2 separate regions of the Homo sapiens genome follow, and region 1 is linked to region 2. Evidence: promoter capture Hi-C in 16 types of primary human blood cells and fetal thymus (Javierre and others, 2016). All regions are on one chromosome and are shown on one strand. The core of a region is centred on a gene start or on the middle of the fragment in contact, and the rest is flanking DNA. Distances in the headings are between cores, read along the strand shown.

Region 1 (4,420 bases), core at 1,477-3,976, 60 kb before region 2:
GATGCTTACTGCATGTAGGAAAATCAGTTAATGCTCGTGTGACTGGCTTATTTCCCTTTGCATACTGTCCTTCAGGTCCATCCATGTTGTCACATATGGCACGATTTTCATTTTTTTTTAAGGCCGAGTAATATTCCACTGTCTGTATCTACCCATTTTCTTTATTCGCCCATTGATGAACATTTAGGTTGTTTCCACATCTTAGCTCATCTTGACAGTGCTACAATGAACATGAGCATGTTAATATTTCTCCAAGATCATGATTTCAATTCTTTTGGATAAATACCTAAAAGTGGAATGGCTGGATCCTATATTAGTTCTGTTTTCCTCTTTTTGAGGAACCTCCCTACTGTTTTCCATAGCGGCTATACCATTTTACATTCCCACCATCTGCGCCAGAGTTCGAATTTCTCCACATCCTCACCAACACTTTTTATCTTTTGTTCTTTTGATAACAGCCATCCTCACTATTGTAAGGTGATATCTCATTATGGGGAAAAATTATATGAAAAGGAAGCATCAAATTAATAGGCAAGAAAACCAGTACATAGTATTTGGACAGTTGGCATATTACTTAAAAATTATGTATGAATCCAAAAAATTAATTAACTCTTACTATATTAGTATTCTGATTGTTGACATTAACCTGTAACAATAGGAGAAAAAGTTAGTTCAGGAATCACTTCCCAATTACATCTGTTACAAATGCAAGGAGAAACAAATACAAGGAGAAACTCCTTTGCATACAATATTTTAAAGAAAAGGACAGGTGAGTTTTGGGATGCGAGGAGAGGGGCAAGAAACTGTCTTCTGTGTGGAGAGGGATCTTGAAACATATCTTCCAATGGGAGGCCAAATGCAGGGGGGCATTGCTTTCAAGAAACTAAAGGTCCTGAGTGCCTCCCAGGATAGCAGTTAATGAGCATGAGCTGGGTTTTCAAGAAGTCTGAATCTATTCAACTACAAAGTAGCTTCCTTCAACTGTAGCAGCCTTGAGAACTTGTGTTCTGCACCTACAGAGACCCCTTCTGCCCAAATACTGGTGGTGCAATGCAGCCAACCGCTGCATCTCCCAAAAGATGCCGGGAAAGAGGCAGACACCCAAACCCACCCTGGGCCTGGGCAGACCCCTCTAGCCTCTGACAAGTCCAGGCACTGCTCAGACCTTCACATGCACACCTAGGGCCCCTTCATTATTCAGCAAGCTCTTCCCAGGCTCCCATCTGGCATCAGGCATGGTGCTGGGAGCTGCTGGGCACACGGATGAGCAGGTGGTGACCCTTTTCCATCAGCTACCCAGAGCCAGCTGCAGAACAGCGCCGAGAGCACATGCCTATAATGTGGGGCAGAGGGTCACACCGAGGACTCTCCCAGAGGGGAGTTATTTGAGCTGCTCTGGAGCAATGCAGACAAGAGGGTACAGAGCACAGAGGCCTGGGGTGGGGACTCCCAGGGACCAGGAGAGGCATGAGGTGGGAAGTGGGGAGCCAGGCTAGAAAGGGCCTTGTGAGTCCTCTGGGGGAGTTGCAGCTTGTCCTATTAGCCATGTGCAGGCTCTTTGGTTTTCAGAGAATGAGGATCATTCACAAGGGTGACTGGAGCTCCTGCGGGATGTGCACACCTGGCCTGAGGTTGAGATGACACAGAAAGAGTCACAGGGCCGGGGTCTCCCGCAGAGCTAGTCTTCTGTTTGAGTGTCATTTATCACCTCTTTCCAGAGGACAAGATGATGGCTTTATGACCAAAGGGGCTGGCTATGGAGGCCTCTCTTAATTTCTAATTGAGAGCCCATAATCACCACAAAGAAAAGCCTCTACCACCCAGGACTTCCGGGGAGACTAGAATCCGACTCAGAGGTGTTTTGTAACAAAACAGGGGTGGAGAAGATTAAAAAAAATCAAAAAAACAAGAAGGTTAGGAAAAAAGGCATTACTAAATTCTCCTTCATAGTACATAAGGTTTTTAAGGTAGGTAAATCACATCAGCCCAGCCACACTCAGTGACCTTTGTGATGGAAGAGGTGACCACTGGGCCAGTAAAGAAGTCACAAGGGTCCCAGGCCTGACCTTTAGCATTTCTGTGATTTTTAAATATCCATAAAACAAAGGTCTGTATGAGACCCAATGGAATCAGAAGCCCAAGTCCCAGCTCAAGTGGGGCCTGGCCACAGCAGGCTCTGGCAAGTCTCTGGCCCTGCAATAAGCCCTGGGGGCTTCCCCGGGCTCTGGGCCTTGCCTCCTATGCTCTGGGCAGCCTGGGTCCACGGGAGAGGAGTGAAAGTCTATTTGGCAAAAAGAACCAAACAGAGGGTTGCTCTGCTTGTCGAGAAAGCAGCACCATTGTCCTGAAAACCTCTACCTCCAGATCCCCGGGGATAACCTGAAGCCTGGAACATCACTGATGTCAGCCTCGTGAACACCCTGTCTTCTCCCACAAGCTCAGTGAAGGAAAGTAGATGGCCTCAAAAGCTCCTGTTACCATGCAGGTGCTCCAAGTCAGGTCACAGGCCGCCTCCCCGGGTCCCCATCCCTGGCTTCGTCATAATCCTGGCTGCCCAGTGACAGCTCTCTTTCTGGGAAGGAGCAGAAAATGGGGCTCCCTGATGTCCTGAAGGGGTTTAGCCTCAAAGCTTCTTGCCAGGCTGGGAACAGATAGAGTGGCCACTTATTAGGAGTTAAGAGGTCAGTATAGGTGCAGAACAGTGTTTTTAAAAGTGTGTCAGGAGCCAAGTAGACACATGGAAAACACAATTCCTGATAGTCTCACTTTTTTTCATGAAATGGGAATTAAAAGATTGTTAGAACGGGGACTGAAATAGTAAAAGAAAGCTTGAAGTGAGGGGGTAGAGGTGTGAACTAGGTAGTAAGGGTCATGGAAGAAAAAGCTGACCTAGAACAAGTGAAAGAGTTGGTGAGAAGCTCTGAATTCTAGCTGAGTTAAAAGACGATGAATTTTAGTTGTAAAGTTGTAGTTTTTAAAAAACTACAGTTTTTTTTTTTTAAGTCAGCATGGTTGTGTGATTTGTTTTATCCCTATTCTGCTTCTCAAGGTGTAAGATCAAAAGCAATGACTTGTAGCATTGAGCCAGGCTTGGGAATTCATTGGATGTGTGTGAAATTTATTCAGTTGACAAATATTTATTGTTTTTGCAATGCACTACTCTGAATATGAAGGGTGGAAAAAAGCAATACAAACTCTGCCCTTATAATCCATAGAATCTAGTGAAGAATGGTCATGACCCAAGACAGCCAAGGGTAATGTTGATGGAGTGTGGTCCAGATGATCAGCCATAGGGGGGAAAAGAAGGAAGTGGGGAGACCAGGGGATCAGAGGTACCTGTGAGATCAAAGATCAGTCTTACTCATAAGAAAACTAACAGAGTAAGAGACCAGTCTAAGACTAGAACATCAACTTTGCTATGGAAAGCAGTGATGCCAAGATCTAGGTCAGGACTCTGGGGCTGGAAAGGAGAGGAGCGGAGATGCAGATCATTGGAGCGGGAGGTCAAGACTGGGAAGCCAGGCTGGTAGGACAGGCCATGTGCTGCGATCTAAAACAGGAGTTAAGGTAGAGAAGAAGTTTTAAGACAGGTCCAAACTCTCAACTAATGAGGAAACACAACCTGAAATTTGGTTCACTGGGGAATATGGGCCACAATGGAAGATGAACTTTTATTAAAAAAAAAAAAAAAAAGGTAGAACATCTGGTGGGAGTTCTGGGTACTGAGAAAATATTCCACTCCAGGATCCAGTGTATGTAGATCAGAAAATGAGTAGCCTCCAGCGAGAAAGTGCATTTCCATTAAAACATTTGAGTGGAGAGAGTGGTATATTACACAGGGCTTTCCAGAGAAACAGACCAATAGGACAGAGAGACAGAGAGAGAGAGAGCATTACTCTAGCCTCACACTGCTAATAAAGACATATCCGAGACTGGGTAATTTATAAAGAAAAAGAGGTTTAATGGACTCACAGATCCGCATGGCTGTTGGGGGCCTCAAAATCATGGTGGAAGGCGAAGGAGGAACAAAGGCATATCTTCCATGGTGGCAGGCAAGAGGATGTGTACGGGGAAACTGCCTTTTGTAAAACCATCAGATCTCATGATACTAATTCACTATCACGAGAACAGCACGGGAAAAGCCTGCCCCCATTATTCAATTGTCTCTGCTTGGTCCCTCCCATGACACGTGGGGATTATGGGAACTACAATTCAAGATGAGATTTGGATGGGGACACAGCCAAACTACATCACAGAGGGAGATTAATTTTAAGAAATTGTATCCTGTGATTGTGGGGGCTGGCCTGCCGGCTGGAGACCTAAGAGAGATATAGAGTTGTTGCAATTTGAGTCTGAAGGCAGTATGGAGACAGCAGTTCTTCTTACTCCGGGACTGCAGTCTTTTTTCTTGAGGCCAGGC
Region 2 (4,560 bases), core at 1,002-3,501:
TGCCAGACCAACAGGAGTTGGAAAGAGAAACCTAGCCATGGTGTCTGCCACAGAGGGACCCTCTAAAGTGCTAGGAGGAGGGTGGGGGGCAGTCGCCACCTGTGGGATGCCATGAACAGCCTCTGCAACTGGCCAGCACCAGGAAGGGGGGCCTCCTGGTGGTGGAGTTGGAGTCCTTTCTGGCTGAATGAGGAGCAATGTGGCTGGGGTGTGCGGGTTTCTGGTGAGGTCCGGGTGGGAAGCCGTCTCTCCGCATTCTCCTGAAAGCTCTGTTGTAGTTTGAAGGTCGGTAGAGCCTGGGCTGAAAAGGAAACAATTTGGGGTTTGAAAGGATGTAATTCATTCTTCCTTTCCCGTTAACCTCTTTCCTCTCTGGAAAGCACGTGGAAACGCTGAAGGGAGGAGTGAGAGGGCAGGCAGCCTGCCGCGGGGAGGAAAGGGTTAAGCCTGATTTCTTTTAATTGAACTCCAGAACTGGTGGCCCCAGGCAAAGGGGGGGACTGACCCCGCTAGCGGTAACCAGATGTGGCGGTCCCAGGGGAGCCCCGGAGCAGACCCCTGGATTGAGAAGCAGACAGGAGCGGGGGGAGTCAGCCCGGCCCCCATCCCACCATCCACCCCACCCCCACCCCCAACACGCACACCAAGTCTCAATTGCTGGCAGGCTGCACCCGCCACTCCAGGTCTGGTCACGTTCAGACCCGTGTCTGTATTCGAACCCAAAATTGGAGCCGAATTGATGAGACTAATTTCTAGAGAGGGAGGGGGAGGGAGGGAGACGAGTGAGCTCTCGGGCTCAATTGCTCCTGAAGAAATAAAGAATTAATAAGTCACCTTTTTTCGCCTCTGTGGACACCCTTTTGAAATTTTTTCTTCCAATTGACTTGGATCTCCTCTGGATTTTTTTTCCCTCTTTCCCCCGTCGGACTCTTAAATAAAAGTGAGCAAGTCCAAAGCGTGGTCCGGAGAGCGTGGACAAGGTAACCTGTTTTGGATGTCCGGGAGAAGGGAGTCCGGCCGAAAGGGCCCAGCCCCTCGAGGCTGCTCCAACTGGGGCGCGCGGCGGCCCAGGAGGGAGGCGGGGAGGTCTCCGGGTTGGGCCGGGGAACGCCGGCCTCCAGGCTGGGTAGGGAGGACGGTCCAGAGCGCGGGCCTCCGGGTCTCACCCCGGGAAAAGTCTGGGTCTGCTCTGCGCTGTTGCGTGCTGCGCTCCTGGGACCTGCTGACTGTCCTAGAGGGAACGTCCCGCGGTAGTGTCAGTTCCCTGGGGACCAGGAAGGGCGACTCTTGCCTGGGAGTCAGTGCTTGGGCCGTCGGGTCCGGGTAAGCGCTGGGGGTTTGGCTCGAGAAGATGCGGATAGGTGGCCTAGGGCGCCGCGGATCTCCGCCCTCTGCGGGCACCGGGAGCCCAGGGTCGAGGCGCGCCGCCCCGAGGGGCCCCTTCTCCTAACAATGCGCCCGGAATGGAGTCCGCGCCCTGACAGCGCGGGTCAGCCCGAAACCGCCCAGAATCCGCTTCGATGAGTGGGTGAGCCGCTCTGGGAGTCTGCCGCGTCTCGGCAGCGGAGGGCCTGAGTGGAAAAATTCTTATTGGATGCACTTTTTAATGGTTGGTTTGCCTCGGTTTTCGTCCGAGTCTTCCCCGGCAGTAGGCGCTGGGTTACCCGCAGCCCTAGCCAACTCTCCCTCCATACCCCCCCTACCCCACCCCCAAAAAGTTTGTCTCCGGCTGGAAAAAGCATTAATGAACGTATCTGTGGGAAGAAACGGAAAGTGAATGAGTCAGGAGGGCCACCTTCGGCCAACCGCCTCAGGAAAAGCAAAGAAGCCAAAGGTCTTTGGCTTTGGATTTTGGGGGAAGGTGATGGGGGGAGGTTCAGACTTCGGGAATCAGGGCGCGGACGCTGGGCGTGGACCCCGTCATTGTTCCCGGCTAGCTCTTATCTCCCAGGAGCAAGTATCCTGTGTGCGCAGCGCATGAATGTGTCTGGGCATCTCCGCGTATATTTATATAGTGTGTGATGCGAAAAGCAGGACCAGCAGGGGAGGAAGAGGGGGTGTGGGGGGGGAGGGAAGACGAGGGAGAGCAGAGGGGAGAGAAGAGAGAGGAGAGCTCGAGGCGAGAGAGAGAGAGAGAGAGAGAGAGAGAGAGAGAGAGAGAGAGAGAGAGAGATAGGACTTCCTCCCCGATTCGCAAAGTGAAGTCACTTCCCAAAATTAGCTGAAAAAAAAGTTTCATCCGGTTAACTGTCTCTTTCGCTCCGCTACAACAACAAACGTGCACAGGGGAGTGAGGGCAGGGCGCTCGCAGGGGGCACGCAGGGAGGGCCCAGGGCGCCAGGGAGGCCGCGCCGGGCTAATCCGAAGGGGCTGCGAGGTCAGGCTGTAACCGGGTCAATGTGTGGAATATTGGGGGGCTCGGCTGCAGACTTGGCCAAATGGACGGGACTATTAAGGTAAGCGGCGGGGCAACGGACGCGGGCGGCGGGGACCGGCCGGGGAGGCGAAGCGGCGGGCGGGTAGGTGCGGGGCCCGCGTCCCGGAAGACGTGGCCTCTCTCCCTTCCCTCCGCGCCCCGGCTTCGCGCCGGCTCCTCCGGCGCTCGGGTGGCGAGTCCTACTCGCGGGCCAGCCGGCCAGGCGCCCGCATTGAGGGCGACCCTCCCCCGAAATCCCAGCCCCCAAAGTGGAGCCCCGGCCCCCCTCCCACCTCGCTGCCCGCCGGGGCTGCAGGAGGGGACGGCGGGAAACCGGGGGACCCCAGGGTACGGAACGGAGTCAAGGGCGAGAGACCTCGGGGTCCACCACTCCCACCGACACCCGGGGCTCCCGTGGCCCCAGCGCTAGGCACTGGGCTTCCTCTCCGCAGAGGCGGAACACGGCGGGGGCGGGGGCTGCAGTCGCCCGGGCTCGGGTCCCTGCCTGGTGGGCCCTGGGGTGGGTAAGTGGCCTCGTTGCACGAGGGTAGGGGTGCAAGTGAGTGTGTCGGGGGATCTATCTGAGCGGGCTCCTCCAGATGGAAGCCCCTGTTTACATGTCAGCGCTTTCCCTTCCTCTCGGCACTCAGTCGCCCGGCTCTAGGCGCTGGAGAGCCGCCGGCTCCGCGGGACTCCTGGGCCGGCCTCGCCGCCTCTCCGGCGGGGAACCTTCCCCAGCCCCCGTCCGCACAGATCCCTAGCGCCCCGAGCCCCCGCCCTTCGCGCCTAGGCGTGCGCCGGCTCCAGGACCAGGGCTCCTGGAGCTGTCGCCTCCGAAAGGGTCCTGCGTCCTTCGGAGCCGCCTCCGTTGCAGGGGCCGGCTGTGAGCCCGCGCCCCGCGCCCGCCCGGCCATTCCCACCCCAGCCGCCGCCGCCAAGCCTGGGTCTAGGTTGCAAAGTGCAACCCAGGCGGAAAGGTGAGGGTTTGGGTTCGCGTCTCACTTCAGAAAAGTTGACTGCTGTCTCTGAAAGGGTTCGCCAAGTAGGGCCAGGAGCAGAGAGGAGGGACACCCCCTAACGTGACGGGCCTTAGAGGACCTAGGGGAATGAATGGGACCAGGGGTTAGCTTCGAGGCTGCCGCGCAACACCAAGCGGGAGTCTGTCTGGAAAAACTATTAGGCTGGCGAGGTGGGGACTGGCAGAGCCCGCCATTCCCCAGAACCCGAAAGAATCGACTCCCTGCTCAGGGCTCAGCAAGAGAAGGCTAAGATGTTGGGCTCAGAGAATTCAAGAGATTTTTATCTTCTGGGTGGGGTCGTGGTTTTTATTTTCTAAGTTTTTTTTATGAAAGTTTGAAATATGCTGACTTAGGTAAAAGACACCAACCGAAGGAACTTGCAAATCTGGAGATGAGATAACTGACTGTGATGGGTTAAAGGGAGCTATAAGAGCCTATAAGAGCCTGGGTTCCTCAAACCCAAAGTGAGTAGGTGAGAAGTAGGTGAGAGGGGATTCCTGCAAAGACCCGAGAGTGGGGGTCATTGGGCCATTTTATGCCTGTTTCTCTGCTTCCTGTTGATGTGTTCATGCAAGTGTCTCTGTATTTCTGGGTTTAGTAATGAGATGCTCCCCTCTAGAAAACTCCCTCGCCCCAATCAGGACAGTTACCACTTACTCTGAAGGCCTCTTCTGATCCAGAAGGGTGGTAAGATGGCCTCAGGGTCTTGATGTGGACACCCTAAGGAAAAGTGAAGAAATATCTCCACACTGCTTAAACTCTACGCACAGGCCCTGAGCAAAAGGAGGAAGCTGTGGTCTGTGTACCCAGGATGTGCTAACCTCTTTAGATACACACAGGGATTGGCATGGCAGGCCTCGAGAACAGGCTTAGAGCAGGAACCTGACACTTCAGGCCAAGGATGGGAGTGAAAGTCCTTCCTTTTTTTGTGGGTGGTAGGAGCCATGAGCTCCTCCAAACCCTCCCTGTGAGCAACCTGTCATTCACCTAAGTTACCTGGCTAGGCTGAGTCCCCACAGAGCTACCTTCAGTCTCCAAGCATTCTGCAAGATTGAGCCTTTAGTGTGTGTGTTGGTGTTTAAGTTGTGTGAAAGCCACAGTTTTCTGTTCGCATGTGACCTCTGG

The links. The method cuts DNA at HindIII sites, captures the fragments that hold promoters and counts their contacts. A CHiCAGO score of 5 or more calls a contact.
Region 1: a fragment that was not itself captured here is called in contact with the fragment with the promoter of FLI1 in region 2 in 8 of 17 cell types (naive B cells, total CD8 T cells, activated CD4 T cells and 5 more); the score reaches 7.8 in naive B cells.

What each region holds. Positions count from the first base shown.
Region 1 is chr11:128,631,289-128,635,708 of GRCh38, forward strand. No RefSeq gene overlaps it. Among named protein-coding and RNA genes, the nearest start is that of ETS1, 46 kb to the left of the region's middle. The HindIII fragment of the contact is 199 bases long and covers 2,628-2,826 here.
Region 2 is chr11:128,691,821-128,696,380 of GRCh38, forward strand. It overlaps FLI1 (Fli-1 proto-oncogene, ETS transcription factor), which reads left to right and starts at 2,252. Exons shown (of 9, transcript NM_002017.5): 1 at 2,252-2,456. The coding sequence starts at 2,439. It overlaps SENCR (smooth muscle and endothelial cell enriched migration/differentiation-associated lncRNA), which reads right to left and starts at 4,203. Exons shown (of 3, transcript NR_038908.1): 1 at 4,093-4,203; 2 at 835-1,571; 3 at 1-301. RefSeq lists silencers at 1,311-1,360, 1,381-1,520, 2,204-2,573, 2,794-2,843, 2,884-3,103 and 1 more and a cis regulatory region at 1,740-2,472. The HindIII fragment of the contact is 9,137 bases long and covers 1-4,560 here.